Regions from separate parts of the Homo sapiens genome. Here all the other regions are linked to region 3. Evidence: promoter capture Hi-C in 16 types of primary human blood cells and fetal thymus (Javierre and others, 2016). All regions are on one chromosome and are shown on one strand. The core of a region is centred on a gene start or on the middle of the fragment in contact, and the rest is flanking DNA. Distances in the headings are between cores, read along the strand shown. Region 1 has its middle 31 kb from the start of LACTBL1. Region 2 holds the start of LOC124903874 (a long non-coding RNA gene). Region 3 holds the start of WNT4 (Wnt family member 4).

The links. The method cuts DNA at HindIII sites, captures the fragments that hold promoters and counts their contacts. A CHiCAGO score of 5 or more calls a contact.
Region 1: a fragment that was not itself captured here is called in contact with the fragment with the promoter of WNT4 in region 3 in 1 of 17 cell types (M2 macrophages); the score reaches 6.8 in M2 macrophages.
Region 2: a fragment that was not itself captured here is called in contact with the fragment with the promoter of WNT4 in region 3 in 1 of 17 cell types (M0 macrophages); the score reaches 5.6 in M0 macrophages.

The regions. Positions count from the first base shown.
Region 1 is chr1:22,938,851-22,943,940 of GRCh38, reverse strand. No RefSeq gene overlaps it. Among named protein-coding and RNA genes, the nearest start is that of LACTBL1, 31 kb to the left of the region's middle. The HindIII fragment of the contact is 1,964 bases long and covers 624-2,587 here.
Region 2 is chr1:22,887,051-22,891,994 of GRCh38, reverse strand. All of the region lies in intron 6 of EPHB2 (EPH receptor B2), which reads right to left. LOC124903874 (a long non-coding RNA gene) reads left to right here and starts at 2,435. Exons shown (of 3, transcript XR_007065534.1): 1 at 2,435-2,488. RefSeq lists a silencer at 2,278-2,483. The HindIII fragment of the contact is 2,047 bases long and covers 1,526-3,572 here.
Region 3 is chr1:22,140,902-22,145,363 of GRCh38, reverse strand. It overlaps WNT4 (Wnt family member 4), which reads left to right and starts at 2,267. Exons shown (of 5, transcript NM_030761.5): 1 at 2,267-2,518. The coding sequence starts at 2,442. LOC105376845 (a long non-coding RNA gene) reads right to left here and starts at 4,411. Exons shown (of 5, transcript XR_947050.1): 1 at 4,359-4,411. RefSeq lists silencers at 1,848-2,177, 2,740-2,799. The HindIII fragment of the contact is 11,467 bases long and covers 1-4,462 here.

The DNA of each region.
Region 1 (5,090 bases), core at 356-2,855, 800 kb before region 3:
ATTCTTAGGACTGTCGGATCTACATCTGTATATTTGTTTTCTTTTCTTTCTTTCTTTTCTTTTTCTTTTTCTTTTTTTTTTTTTTTGAGACAGAGTCTCGTTCTGTCACCCAGGCTGGAGTGCAGTGGTGCGATCTCGGCTCACTGCAACCTCTGCCTTCTGGGTTCAAGAGATTCTCCTGCCACAGCCTCCTGAGTAGCTAGGACTGCAGGCGTGCACCACCATGCCCAGCTAATTTTTTGTATTTTTAGTAGAGACGGGGTTTCACCATGCTGGCCAGGTTTGTCTCGAACTCCTGACCTCAAGCAATCCACCTGCCTTGACCTCCCTAAGTGCTGGGATTACAGGTGTGAGCCTCTGTGCCCGGCCTACATCTGTATATTTCTGATAAGCCTCCAAAATTCTTTCCAAAATGCTAATGGGTTCTCATCCACTTCTTGTCTAGATATAGTCATGGGAAATCAAAATTTGACCTCCCCCCAAAAAATAATAATAAAACAAAATTCAACCCCAGAATGCAGCCTGCTTGAGTAAATTATTCAAAATTGATAAATTATATCTTACAACTAGTTTCATTTTGCTATCAAATGGGAAAGTAGGATGAAATCCCTGATGTCTAAGCTTTTATACTCCTTTATCAGAACAAACCAATCAAGTTAAATGTAAAATTCTGATGCAATGGATGGAGGCTTTTAAGAAGGGTGGTGAGTCTGCACTTTTCCCTATGATCCCCATGTCACCAGCAAAGAAGAATTCTCCTTAGAGCCTACTACAACTTCTATAACCCCAGCCCAGCCATCTCAGCACTCTCCACCAGCTGCCTTGGGGTCAGCTTCAGCCTCTTTGATGGCCCCAACCCCTGAGACTTCCAAACCCTGCAAAACCCTTTCCTGACTCCTGCTAGCCCTCTCACTTATGGACCCAGGACCCGTACCTGAGTTCTGCCAGGTCTTCCCCCATATTTTCCTTTGCTCTCTCCTTTCACCAAGGAGACATCTGGGAACTCCAGAGAAATGGTCTCATCCTCTTGGACCCATCAGGGGACACAATTTGGCTGGGTTCTGCTACCCTTCTCTACAGGGCAGTTCCCTCTGAGACAGGTCCCTGTTGGGGGTTTAGCTGAAGAAGGACAGCCCGCTGGAATGATGCAAACTTACATAATTGTAAGCAGACCAAACCTGCTTATAGGGATGACCTGAAATGTATAACTAACCTCTTTGAGTCTATTTTCATGACTCATGGCCCTACATGGGCTGATGTTCAGAGCCTCCTTAAAGTCTTGCTGACATCTGAAGAGTGTCATACAGTGCTAGAAAAGGCTCAGGAAAAGGCTGATCGGTTACACACAGAAGATCCTAATAATGGGGTGAGGACTGGTTACAGTCTGGCAGTGCCCCTCCATGACCCCAGCTGGAAGCTGATCAACAGGGGTTCTGGACTGTTTTCTGGTGGGGCTCAGGAAGGGAGTCCCTCAAACCAAAAGTTTAAAGAAGGTGCAGGAAATAGACACACACGTACACACATGCGCACGTGCGCGCACACACACACACACACACACACACACACAAACACTTATCAAAATACAATCTAGGCCGGGTGTGGTGGCTCATGCCTATAATCTCAGCACTTTGGGAGGCCAAGGCAGGTGGATTACTTGAGGTCAGGAGTTCGAGACCAGTCTGGCCAACATGGCGAAACCCTGTCTCTATTAAAAATACAAAAATTAGCTGGGTATGGTGGTGCATGCCTGTGGTCCAAACTACTTGAGAGGCTGAGGCAGGAGAATCACTTGAACCCAGGAGGTGGAGGTTGCAGTGAGCCAAGATCACGCCACTGCACTCAAGCCTGGGTGACAGACTGAAACTCAGTCTCAAACCAAAACAGAACAAAAATCAATCTAACTGCAGTAGTGATTAACAAGCCCCCAAAGTGTCTGAACTGAAATAGAGTGCTTTCCACTCTCACATTAGTGGGTTGGGCTTGTTTAACCTGCAACAAATGGAAATTCTTCAGAATTTCCCAATTTGACAGGAGCAGCTCCTACTGTCTAGTACCCACAAAGGACACTCACCTGTCCAGATGCAGATGTCAAATTTCAAAGAATATTCTTCCTAGGCAATCAGGACTGCAGTTGGGGCCAAAGAGAGAGAGACTGAAACCTCTGGCCAAATATGGCTGGGCATCTGCTAGAAGGGTTTTCAAAACTCTCCCAGCCTGTGGCTGCCAAGTCACAAGCAATGCAATCCAAGTCAGGACACCAGAATTTTGTTGCTGAATGCCAGGGGTTTGACCTAGGTCCAGTTCTCACCCACAGAAAGCCAATCACTGAGACAACGAGTATTGCCAAGGAAGAAAGGCTTTATTGTGGGTGATGTCAGCCAGGAGATGAGAGACAAGTCTCAAATCTCTCTCCCCAACCAACTAAAGTTAGGGGTTTATATAGGAGTTGGTCAACAGGCATCAGGGAGTCAGATAAGGGGTCTGGCACCTCACCGTCCAGATGCAGTGATGTGGAAAGTTTCAGCTCCCTGATAGCCAATTTCCTGTGAAAGGAACTCAGATAAGAAAAATGTAAGTTTCTCAAGCTTCAAGACTGGAAGGGTCAATTTCTATCTTATTAAAAACACTTGTAAACATCAGTTCTGAGAAAATTGGGTCTGTTCAATGGTATATAATTGTTTTGATATGTTGCTGACTTCTATTTGCTAATATTTTGTTAAGAATTTTTGCATCTATACTCATGAGGAATATTGGTCTGTAGTTTTCTTTCTTTTTTTGTATATTATCTTTGTTTGGTTTTGGTATCAGGATAATATTAGCTTCATAAAATGAATTGGGAAGTGTTTCTGCCTCTTCTATTTTCTGGAAGAGATTGTGTAGATGGTATTAATTCTTCTCTAAACACTTGGTAGTATTCTCCAGTGAAACTACCTGGCTCTGGAGATTTTCTTTTTTGGTAATTAAAAAACATTGTTAATTCAATTTCCTAAATGGTTATGGGGCTATTCAATATGAGCAAGTTGTGGTAGTTTTGGCTTTTCCCAGAATTGGTCTATTTCATCAAAATTGTTGAATTTATGTCTGTAGAGTTATACATAGTGTTCTCTTATTATTTTTTTGATATCTGCAGGGCCTAAAGTGACATCCCGTTTCATTCTTCATATTGATAATTTATATCTTCTCTCTTTTTTCCTGTTAGTCTTTCTAGAAGTTTGTCAATTTTGAAACAGTGAAGCAAACCAGTTTTTTGTTTCATTGGTTTTCTTTCTTGCTTTTCTGTTTTTAATGTTATGCTGTTATTTTATTATTTCAATCTTCTGCTTGCTTTGAGTTTATTGTGTTCCTTTTTTCCTAGATTTTTTTTTCTGGATTCTTGACATGGGAACTTAGATTATTGATTTGATAATGCAATTACTGTTTGTTTTAGGCCAGTAAATATTGAAGTTCTTTATTACACGACAAGAGAAAGCTGGAACAGTTATGAGGTACCCAACCGAAATTGAGTCATGAACAGCACTGATGTAAACTGCACTGAGCCTTTGCATTTATGAGTGTGGAGCAGGATAATATATCAAGAATTAGGCCAGACACAATGGCATATGTCTGTAATCCCAGCACTTTGACAGGCCAAGGCCCAGGAGTTTGAGACCAGCCTAGGCCACATAGTGAGACCCTGTGTCTAGAAAATTAAAAAAAAATTTAGCTGGGTGTGGTGATGCACACCTGTGGTCCCAGCTATTAGGAAGTCTAAGGTGGGAGGACTGCTTCCTCTTTTCTGATGTAAGCATTTATTGCTATCAATTTCCCTCTTACCACTGCTTTAGCTATGCCCCACATGTGTTAATATGGAGTATTCTTATTCTCATTAAAGTAAATATATTGTTAAATTTCTTTTGAGATCTATTCTTTGACCACATGAATTATTTATAAGTGTATAGCTTTGTTTCAAAGGGTTCAGAGATTTTCATGTTATCTCTATACTGTTGATTTCTAGTTTGATTCCACTGTGGTCAGAGAACACATTTTGTATGATTTCAGTTGTTTTTTTAGTTTGTTGAGGTTTGTTTTGTGGCTCAGGGTGTGGTCTATCTTGGTATATATTTCATTGGTGCTTGAAAACAATGTGTGTTCTGCTATTGTTGGGTGGATTGTTGGATGCCGATTAGATCCTGTTGGTTGTAGGTATTGAATTCTGTATCCTTCATGATTTTCCATCTGTTGTTCTATGAATTGTTAAGAGGGAAATGATATCGTGAAAATGGTGATACTACCCAAGGTAATTTATAGATTCAATGCCATCCCCATCAAGCTACCAATGACTTTCTTCACAGACTTGGAAAAAACTACTTTAAAGTTCATATGGAACCAAAAAAGAGCCCGCATTGCCAAGTCAATCCTAAGCCAAAAGAACAAAGCTGGAGGCATCACGCTACCTGACTTCAAACTATACTACAAGGCTACAGTAACCAAAACAGCATGGTACTGGTACCAAAACAGAGATATAGACCAATGGAACAGAACAGAGCCCTCAGAATTAATGCCGCATATCTACAACTATCTGATCTTTGACAAACCTGACAAAAACAAGCAATGGGGAAAGGATTCTCTATTTAATAAATGGTGCTGGGAAAACTGGCTAGCCATATGTAGAAAGCTGAAACTGGATCCCTTCCTTACACCTTATACAAAAATTAATTCAAGATGGATTAAAGAGTTACATGTTAGACCTAAAACCATAAAATCCCTAGAAGAAAACCTAGGCAATACCATTCAGGACATAGGCATGGGCAAGGACTTCATGTCTAAAACACCAAAAGCAATGGCAACAAAAGCCAAAATTGACAAATGGGATCTAATTAAACTAAAGAGCTTCTGCACAGCAAAAGAAACCACCATCAGAGTGAACAGGCAACCTACAGAATGGGAGAAAATTTTTGCAACCTACTCATCTGACAAAGGACTAATATCCAGAATCTACAATGAACTGAAACAAATTTACAAGAAAAAAACAAACAACCCCATCAAAAAGTGGGCGAAGGATATGAACAGACACTTCTCAAAAGAAGCCATTTATGCAGCCAAAAAACACA
Region 2 (4,944 bases), core at 1,300-3,799, 750 kb before region 3:
CAAGACCCTTTCTCTAAAAAAAAAAAAAAAAAATTAGCTGGGCATGGAGATACATGCTTGTGGTCCCAGCTACTTGGGAGGCTGAGGTTAAAGGATCACTTGAGCTTGGGAGGTCAAGGCCACAGTAAGCCATGATTATGCCACTGCACTGTAGCCTGGGCAACAGAGCAAAACCCTATCTAAAAAAATACAACAACAACAAAAAAAAAAGAAACCAGACTCTTGCATGGAGCCACCTCTATCTAATGTCCATGCCTTTGGGTACCCCAAACCTAGTGTCTTCTCCTTTGAGAGATGAAGAACACCAATTTTGGCTTCCTGAATGTTACCCAGGGCGATCCAAGGAATCTAGGACAGGACAAAGATCCAGCTGCTGCAGTGGGAGTGGAGATGTGGTTGGATCAGATACAGATGATGCTCGTTTAGGCATCTGTCAGCCGCCCGGCAAAACTTCCCCAAATATCCTCTTTGCACTAGGCTGGGACTGGGGTTCTACAGGGAGCTAAGGCACAGGCCCTGGCCTTGGAGAGCTCAGTCCAGAAAAGTAAGCATGTGAGGATCCCAACCCTTTGAAGATCATGAAGCTCCTGAGACAATTTTTTTCTGACGAAAATCTGTGAATGCTTATCCAGAAAAACACACACCTAGTTGTACATGCCAGTCACACACACATCACAGAGTGCACGGAGCCCTTGAAAACCTTCCCAAAACAATGAAGATTCAGTGCGTGCAATGTTATTACAGGCTTTATAGCATGGAGGTTAAGATCACAAGCTGGAGCCAGACTTCTTGGGTTCAAATCCTGGCTCTAGTATATATGACCTCTGTGACCTTGGGCAAGTTCCTTAACTTCTCTGTGTCTTCATCTGTAAAAGGGGGATAGTAACAGTAGCTACCTCAGAGTTTGTTCAGATAATAAAATGAATCAATAGGTATAACAGGCTCACACTGATAGGGTAAGCACATACCGAGGGACATGTGACCTGGTCTGGGACGGGGGCTGCATTAGTCCCTTCTCATGCTGCTATACACACATACCCAAGACTAGGTAATTTATAAAGGAAAGAAGTGAAATTGACCCACAGTTCCTCATGCCTGGGGAGGCCTCAGGAAACTTACAACCATGGCAGAAGAAGAAGCAAACACATACTTCTTCACATGGTGGCAGGAGAGAGAAGTGCCGAGCAAAGGGGGAAAAGCCCCTTATAAAACCATCAGATCTTGTGCAAACTCACTCACTATCATGAGAAAAGCATGGGGGTAACCACCCCCGTGATTCAATTACCTCCTACTAGGTCCCTCTCACAACAGGTGGGGATTATGGGAACTTCAATTCAAGATGAGATTTGGGCGGGGACACAGCCAAACCATATCAGGGGCTACCAGGTGAAGTCAGGAAAGCTCCCTCGTGAGTGGGGGTCACTGGAATGGGATCTCAAAGAACAAACAGGAACCACCCAGACAAAGATGTGCATGCCTGGCAGAAGGGGCAGCAGGTTCAGAGGAAAGGAGAGGAGAAAAAGCTTGGGATGTAGGGGATATGAAGGGGGCTGACTTGAAGATGTGTCTCTACCACCCCCATAACAGGGGGAGGCAGGGATAGCTGGGTGGGGCAGCAGCAGAGAGGAAGTCTCTTTTGCCAAGCCAGATCATCTGCCTCCTCCTCCAGGAAGCCTCCTTGACATCCCAGCCAGATGCACCTCTTCCTTCTCAGTCCCAGAGCACTTGCTGTGGGTGCCACAGGAGGGGGTTTCTGCTATGCCCCCTCAACTTCCAGCTGAGGCTCCTCTCGCCCCCTTAACTCTAAGCCCATGAGGGAGGGCTTGTGTTTGTTCCCCTGTACCAAGTTTGGGGTCCCTCACACAAAGTCCTTCTCCAGTGCCCACAGGGTGAAGGCCGACTCCTTAGCCTGGCATTCCAGACCCTTCATGACCCACCATTTTGCAGTCTCTCCTGCAACATCCCTAATGTTTCCTAGGTTCCTGCCATCCCTAACTCTTTCCCCCTTCCTTGGTAGAGCTGCCAGATTTAGCAAACACAAATATAGGATGCTGCTCAGTCAAATTTAAATTTCAGATGAACAACAAATACATTTTGGTATAAGTACGCCCCGTGCAATATTTGGGACATATTTGTACTAAAACATTTATTTTTAAAAAATTCAAATGTAATCATGTGTCTTCTATTTTATCTAGCAACTCTACCTTCCATGGACACTCTTGAGTTTTTGCAAGCACTGTTGCCCCTGTCTGAAATACCCTTTCCTCACTTGTCTTGCAGTGTCCTACTCATCGTTCAAGACTCAGCGCAAGTGCCACCTCTGCTGGGGAGACTTCCCAGATGTCCCAGCCAGGGGTTGTGGGTCCAAATTGTCTCCCCTCCCACCTATTGTCCTAATATACCTGTCCATCTTCTTTAAGGATGTGGATTTCCTGAGGCCAGGGACCATGTCTTGCTCATCTCTGGATCCCCCCAGGTTTGCCACACAGTAAGTGTTCACTAATTATTGACATAATGAATGAACATTAAACTGGTATTCAAAAATCTACAAAACCTGGGATGCAGTACCAGACATGGACACTAAGTGCCACTGTACAACATGGGCTCTGCTCAGACTTGAAAACAGGTTAGATTCTGTAAACTGGGTGGGTGCCCACTTAGAGATGTTGGAGGTTTTAAGCCCCTGATTATGTGAGGGAGATGAGAGGCGGCTGCTGGTTCCATAGGTGCCTCATGAGAGTGAGGAACCAACCTGAGCAGCTCCCTTCATTAAAGCTGGGCAAGGGATTGGAAGCTGTTTCATTTTTCATTTTTGTCTCTCTCTGTCTGACTATATTTTTGAGACAGGGTGTTGCTCTGTGACCCAGGCTGGAGTGCAGTGGCGCGATTATGGCCCATTGCAGCCTCGACCTCCCAGACACAAGCGATCCTCCCACCTCAGCCTCCCTAGTAGCTAGGACTACAGGCACATACCATCACACCCGGCTAATTTTTGTATTTTTGGTAGAGACAGGGTTTCATCATGTTACCCAGGCTGGTCTGGAGCTCCTGGACTCAAATGATCCACCCGTCTCAGCTTCCCAAAGTGCTGGGATTACAGACATGAGTCACTGTACCCAGCTGGAAGCTGCTTCATATCCTTGTTTTTTCACTTGATTGCACTGTGACCTTGGGAAAGACCCTTCACTTCCCTGAGCCCCTGTTTTCTATTCCAAATAAATGGAACAATAAATGCCAAGCTCTCAGGGCTGTTGTGAAGATAAAATTTGATCAGGTAGTGCCTGGCACATTGGAGATGCCCGAGAGACGCCAATTCCCTTCGGTCTCTCCTCTCCCTGGGGTACCTTTATCTGAACAGTGATTAAGCACCAAGGGACGATGGGAAGAGATTCAGTATGAAATCCACTAGTCCTTAGTCTGAGCACTTACCTGGTAGCTTAGGGCCAGTGAGGCATTGGGTGCATGTCTTAAGCCTTCCAGGCCTCAGTTTTCTCATCTCTAAAGTGGGTTAATGCAAGTAGGTACCATAAAAGGTGGTTTTGGAGATTTAAAAGGAAAATACAGGTAAAGCTTTTTAGCACAGTCTCTAGCACATAAAAAGACTTAATAAATGTTGGCTCCCACCATCACTGTTATCATCAAAACCATTATAGAGGCCAGGCGCAGTGGCTCATGCCTGTAATCCCAGCACTTTGTGAGGCCGAGGGCTGGATCACCTGAGGTCAGGAGTTCGAGAACAGCCTGACCAACATGGTGAAACCCCATCTCTACTAAAAATACAAAAAATTAGCCGAGCGTGGTGGCACATGCCTGTAATCCCAGCTACTTGGGAGACTGAGGCTGGAGAATCACTTGAACCCGGGAGACGGAGGTTGCAGTGAGCTTGCGTCATGACACTCCAGCCTGGGCAACAAGAGCAAAACTCTGTTGTCACACACACAAAAAAAACCCCCAAAAAACAAACAAACAAAAAAACCATTATAGAGTAAGCCCTTTCCCATGTTCATTAAATGGATGGATGAATGCAAAAGTGAATGAATGAGTGGACAAACCTCTCCAGGTAGATCCTACTCCAGGTACTGGGCAACAAGCTGAATATGGCCTGAACTTTCATAGTTTCACCCCCCATCCTCCAACCTTTGCTCCTTCTGCCTGGAATGTCCTTCCTCTTCATTTTCTGTTAAATAAATTCTAAAATTGATGTGGGCTACCAGGGGCCATCGACCACAGGTGGCCTCATGAATGGCTCTTCTCCTTGAGTTCTTGGGGGACCAGTGGGATCCTGAACCTGTGTGCTTTGGGGTAGCTGCCAAAGGAGGCCACCTCCCCTGGGGCGTTGGAACTGACGGAAGCAGCCAGGCCTGGGTCTGCACAAGGCCACCGCCATTCATCAGTGGCCTCCAGAAGCCATCTAGCAACGCAGTTGTCAGCTCTGGACTCCAGGCAGGCTGGGAAATCCCAGTGGGGCTTGGGGAAGGCCAAACGGAGGGCCCGCTCCTAGAGAGCCCTTTCTGAAGAAGGAAAGGAGTGGGAAAGAGGTGGAGGTGGGGGCCACACAGGCCTGCAGGGCTCAGTATCTGACTTCCCTTCCTAGGAAGACTGGAGCATTCAGGAAAGAATCTAATAGCAGACACAAGGAGGATTCCTGTGTTAGGTAACAGCCGGCTGTGGACTTGCTGGAATAAATCCTACCACCTGCAGCCTAGCTGTCCCTTCCTGGTGGTGGTGGCTGGCATATCACAGACTTGTCTGAGAGGTCAGGGAGAGACATGACTCTTGGTTCTGCTCCTACCCCTCTGCCAGCACCTCCTCTAATATTTTCATCAACTCCGCTTTCTTCCCCTCCTTAAACCCTGGCATTCTCCAGGATCCTATCTTCTGGTTCTTCCTCTGCACACTCTCCTGGCTGCTGTTCTCTATCCTCCCTGAACCCCAACCCCTTTG
Region 3 (4,462 bases), core at 1,018-3,517:
GCAAATCTTCCAGTTAGAGCCCCCCGTCACTCTTGAAAACATCCTGGTTTGGAAGAAAATTATATGGCCATCCTAACATAATTACCTGTTGCCATCTAAATTATTATCGTTGTTATTATTATTTTCCACCATACCATACTGAGTCTCCAGGAAGTGAATATGCTGGTTCAAAATAGGTCAGCACTTCAGTACCACCCTTAAACACAGGTGAGAGTGGCCCCTGCCCTGGGGACCCCCCCAGTCTGGCCCTCCTCCAGCTAACCTCTCATCACAAGGAGGGAAGACCATGGGACAAGGGGACATGCCCACCTGGAACTTGTGGCACCTCCACTAGAGCATACTCTGGGTGCCCAGGCCCCTGGGGTTCCCTGCAGAGATGGCCCTTAGCCCACTGCCAGGACCTGCGTGGGTCTCTTCCGCAGATCCAGCCCGAGGACAGAGTACACCACTGGCGTGCCCAGCCCTAAGCCTGAGGGGCTACCAAGGGGCTGAGCTTGCATGTGCAGGCTGAGATGTTCATGAATGTGCACAAGACTCTCGAAGGACAGGACAGAGGCAGAGGTAGGAAAAGGTAGGGGGCAGGGGCCCAGGCCAGGCACTAGGGGCCCCCTCTCCCTGTGCCACCAGCTCCAGGGCAAGGTCTGAGGAGTATGAGAATGCCACACTCAAAGCCAGCTTTCTGCCTTGTTAGGAAAGTGTATTTGTCAAGATAGAAGAATAGAACATAATTTATTTTGCATTTTGTTAGCTTGATTTATAGCCTGCAAATATTTGGACATATGGTATGTGAACCTCCATCTATACTCTTGCCCAGCCCCACAAATCCCTGCCACGTTCCACCCAGTCCCAATACCAAATGTTTACTGAGCCCTTCCTCTGTTCTGAGCCCAGGGGACCCCAGGGCACCATCCCAGCACCCAAACATGATGGCCTCTGTGGGAGCAAACTTCATACTCCAAAATCAGTGAAGAACTAAGATCAGGGGGTGAGGGCATAGACCTGGTCCTTGCCTCTGTTCCCAACCCCTAGGGAGGTGGGACAGGTGCCTCCCTTTCCGGGCCTTAGTTTTACTGTTTAGATAAGAGGTCCCTCTACCTGTGAGCAGCTGGGGGATGCAGCCTGGAGGATGAGTAGCACACAGAATCAGATCAGTGACCTGAGAGGGTGTGGCGTGGACTTGGGCAGACAATTCTTAGGGGTTACAGTGATGTGGAATTGAGCTCTCTGGACTAGCCAAGCACAGGCTGTTGCAGCCCATTCCATTCCATTCATTTATTCCTTCCACAAACATGGCAGGCACCGCCCTGTGCCCAAAACAAACAAGAGGCTGAATCTGCCTAGTATGGGAGGATAAATCGAACAAGCACATAGAAAACCAAATGCAAAGTAAGACTTGGTGAGTGAGCCAAGAGAGCTTCCCTAAACTCCTCCTGTCCTCCCAATCACAGCGTCTTAAGCCCACTTCCCGGATGAGAAAACGGAGGCTCAGAGTCAAGACCCTGCTGCCTGGGGCGCGCCCAGACCTTGTGGCTAGCCAGAAGCGAGGTTTCGGATTCCCACAGTCTCGGGCCACTGTCCCAAGCTGCCCAAAGCTGGGGAGGCCCCGTCCAGCTCCCGGAAGGCTGTAGGGAGGTGAGCGCCAGGGAGGGGCTGGGCCGCAGGACGCGGGGGCCAGGAGGCAGGGAGGGGCCGGGCGGGGGGCGGTCGGGAGACATCCAGCGCCCCGATGTGCAGCCCCAGGCACCCGGAGCGCCAGCGCCTGGGTGCGCGCGAGTGGTAGCCGCGCTCCGGTGGGTCCGCCGCGGTCGGACCGGGGTCTGGGCTCCAGGCGCCGGCGGGGGGCGGTGGGGGGGGTAGGGGGACAGCGAGGGCCGCGCTGCAGTGCCCGCAGCGGCGGGTTGGGGGAGCTGTGCCCGCCTGTCCCCTAGGCCCGGGCGGCGGCCGGGCAGCTGGGTCGCCGCGCCTCTAGCCGGGCCGGGCTCGGCGGCGCGCAGCCAGGCGTGCCTGGAGCGGGCTCGGGCCCCAAGTCCTCCGGAGCGCCCAGCCGGGGAGGCCCCGGGAGCAGCCCAGTCCCGCGGGCTAAGGCGGCAGCCGCCGCCGCTCCGGCCCGCCCCCGGGGGGGTGTCCCGGGCCGCTGGGCCCGCCCAGGTAACCCCATCCTCGGCCCGCCCCCGGCCCGCCCCCCCGGCCGCCCGCCCGCCCGCCCGCCTCCGCCGCCGCCGCCGCCGCCGCCGCCGCCGCATCCCGGCTCTGGGGCGGCGCTGACAGTCTGGTCCGCGCCGGGCAGCGGGCGCAGCAGCGGGCAGGCTGCCGGCAGGCACACGGAGGCAGAGCCCCGCCGCGCGCGCCCCGGCCCGCCCGCGGGCGCCCACCTGCAGCCCCGACGGGAGGCCCCCCGCGGCCGCAGCCGCTGCCCCGGGCCGGGCGCCCGCGGCGGCACCATGAGTCCCCGCTCGTGCCTGCGTTCGCTGCGCCTCCTCGTCTTCGCCGTCTTCTCAGCCGCCGCGAGCAACTGGCTGTAAGTCTGGCCGGGGCCGAGCGGGGCGGGGCGGGGCGGGGCAGGCCCCGGGGGCAGCGGCCGGTGCCAGGCGGCGCGGGGCAGCGGGCGCGGGGCAGCCCGGCAGGTGTCTCGGCCGCGGGACCGGAGGCTCGCTCGCTCCGCTGCCGCCGCCACGGCCCGAACGTCCCTCTGCACACCCGGGGTCCCCTCCTGCCCGGGTCCGGCTCCCTGCCCAGAGGCGTCAGGGGTGGCTGTGGCGGCGTCCGCACCGGTAGGCGGCTCGGGGCTCTCGAGGGCGCCAGGGGTGCGAGCGCGGGGCGGTGGCCCGGGAGGGGCGCCGGACGCGGGTTGCAGTCCAGCCGGGCTGACAGGTCGCTGAGGAAGCCCATTGCAGGGAAGGGCTCCGGGACATAATAGCAGGTTAATCCCGAGAAGTCCGGAGCGAGCTCCCAGCGCCGAGCTGCGCCGAGCTGCGCCGCGCTGCGGGCTGGGCTGGAGGCGTGCAGGGACCTGTTTCTGCTTGGGGGGCGGGAGCCGGAGACAGAAGGAAGGGACCAGGACGCCTGGTCTCCCAGGGCCCGGGGCTGGCGCTGGCGCTGGCCGGGCCTTGGTTTTTCCCCGGGGCAGGAAGAAACTCCGTCCAGACCTTAAAGAAGACAACGGCCCCCCAGCTCCCCGTGTCTAGCCTAAGGAGGAAGGGGTGGTAACCGCTGGTGACCTGTCTGTTTCTCCTTGACTGGATCTGCGCTCAGGGCGCTCCCTGGGTAGGGGCGGAAGGTTTGCTGCAGGGAGGGAGACTAAAGGGATGAGCTCCAGTGAGTGGGTGGACAGGGAGCAAGCGGACCCGCGCTCCTTTCATCCCCGCTCAGGGACAGTTCCCCATGCCCCGCGCTTAACCCTGGCCCCAGTTCCTCCTGCCCAGAGCTCTGCCACCATCCGCTGTGGGCAGCCAGTGGGGAGCCAAGCTCCAATATTGATCTGAAAAGCATGGGGTGGGAAGGGGGATCGCCAACAGTGTAGCTGGGGTTTCCATGGAGACAGGGAGAGAGGAAAAAATTCTCTCTGCATCAAGACCAAAGAACAAATATCTCCCATGAAATTGCCCCGAGTGTCCAATGGCTGTTGCTATGAGGTCATTGTGGCCAGCCAGAGCCCTCCAGGCTGGAAGGAGTGTGTTCGTTGGGGTCAGAGCCACCCAGGGCTTGGGGGACGGAGGTGATGTGGAATTCTCCCAGCTGTTCCGAGAGCAAACGACTCCAAGGCAGCCCGAAGTGGCTGCGGAGCTTTTGTTTTTCTTGGAGCCTTAATTTGATTAACACTTCAGGAGCAGTGGCAGAGTGTACAGAAAGCAAGGCACCACCACCTTCTCCCACTGCCCCCCTGCAGGCCACCCCCTGAATGGAGCCTGGGTCACAGAGCTGGGGAGGGAGCTGATTTGGACTTGGAGGACCCTGGGTGTCCCTGGAGCTGGTTCTTGAATGCATGGGTTCAGAGCGGGGGCCTCCAAAACAGATCTGAGCATCAGAAGGAGCAAGAACTGTGTCTCACCTGCCCAGCACCGCCAAAGCCACAAAAAACAAACAAACAAACAAAAAACAAAGAAAAAAAAGTGGCAGTCCAAGCGTCTGGCCCAGGCCTACATGGAAGACAGCGACATCTGCAGTGGAAAGTCCTTCAGGAACATCTCATCTTTGACTCAGATGAGGAAACTGAGGCCTAGGGAGTGGAAGCTACTTGCCCAAACTCAGAGCTGAGAACTGAACCCAGGTGTTCTGACTCCCAGGCAGTGACCCTATACCCCCTTCCCTGAAGCTGTCCCAAAGTGGAGCCAGCATGGCCCGGTGGCATCACCACTCACCTTCACCCATGTCCACCCCCAGAATCCCAGCCAGGAAGGCAGCCTCGGCTTTGGATCATGCAAACTGTGGGGAATTCCAACAACTCAGTTCTCCTGCCTGTGCT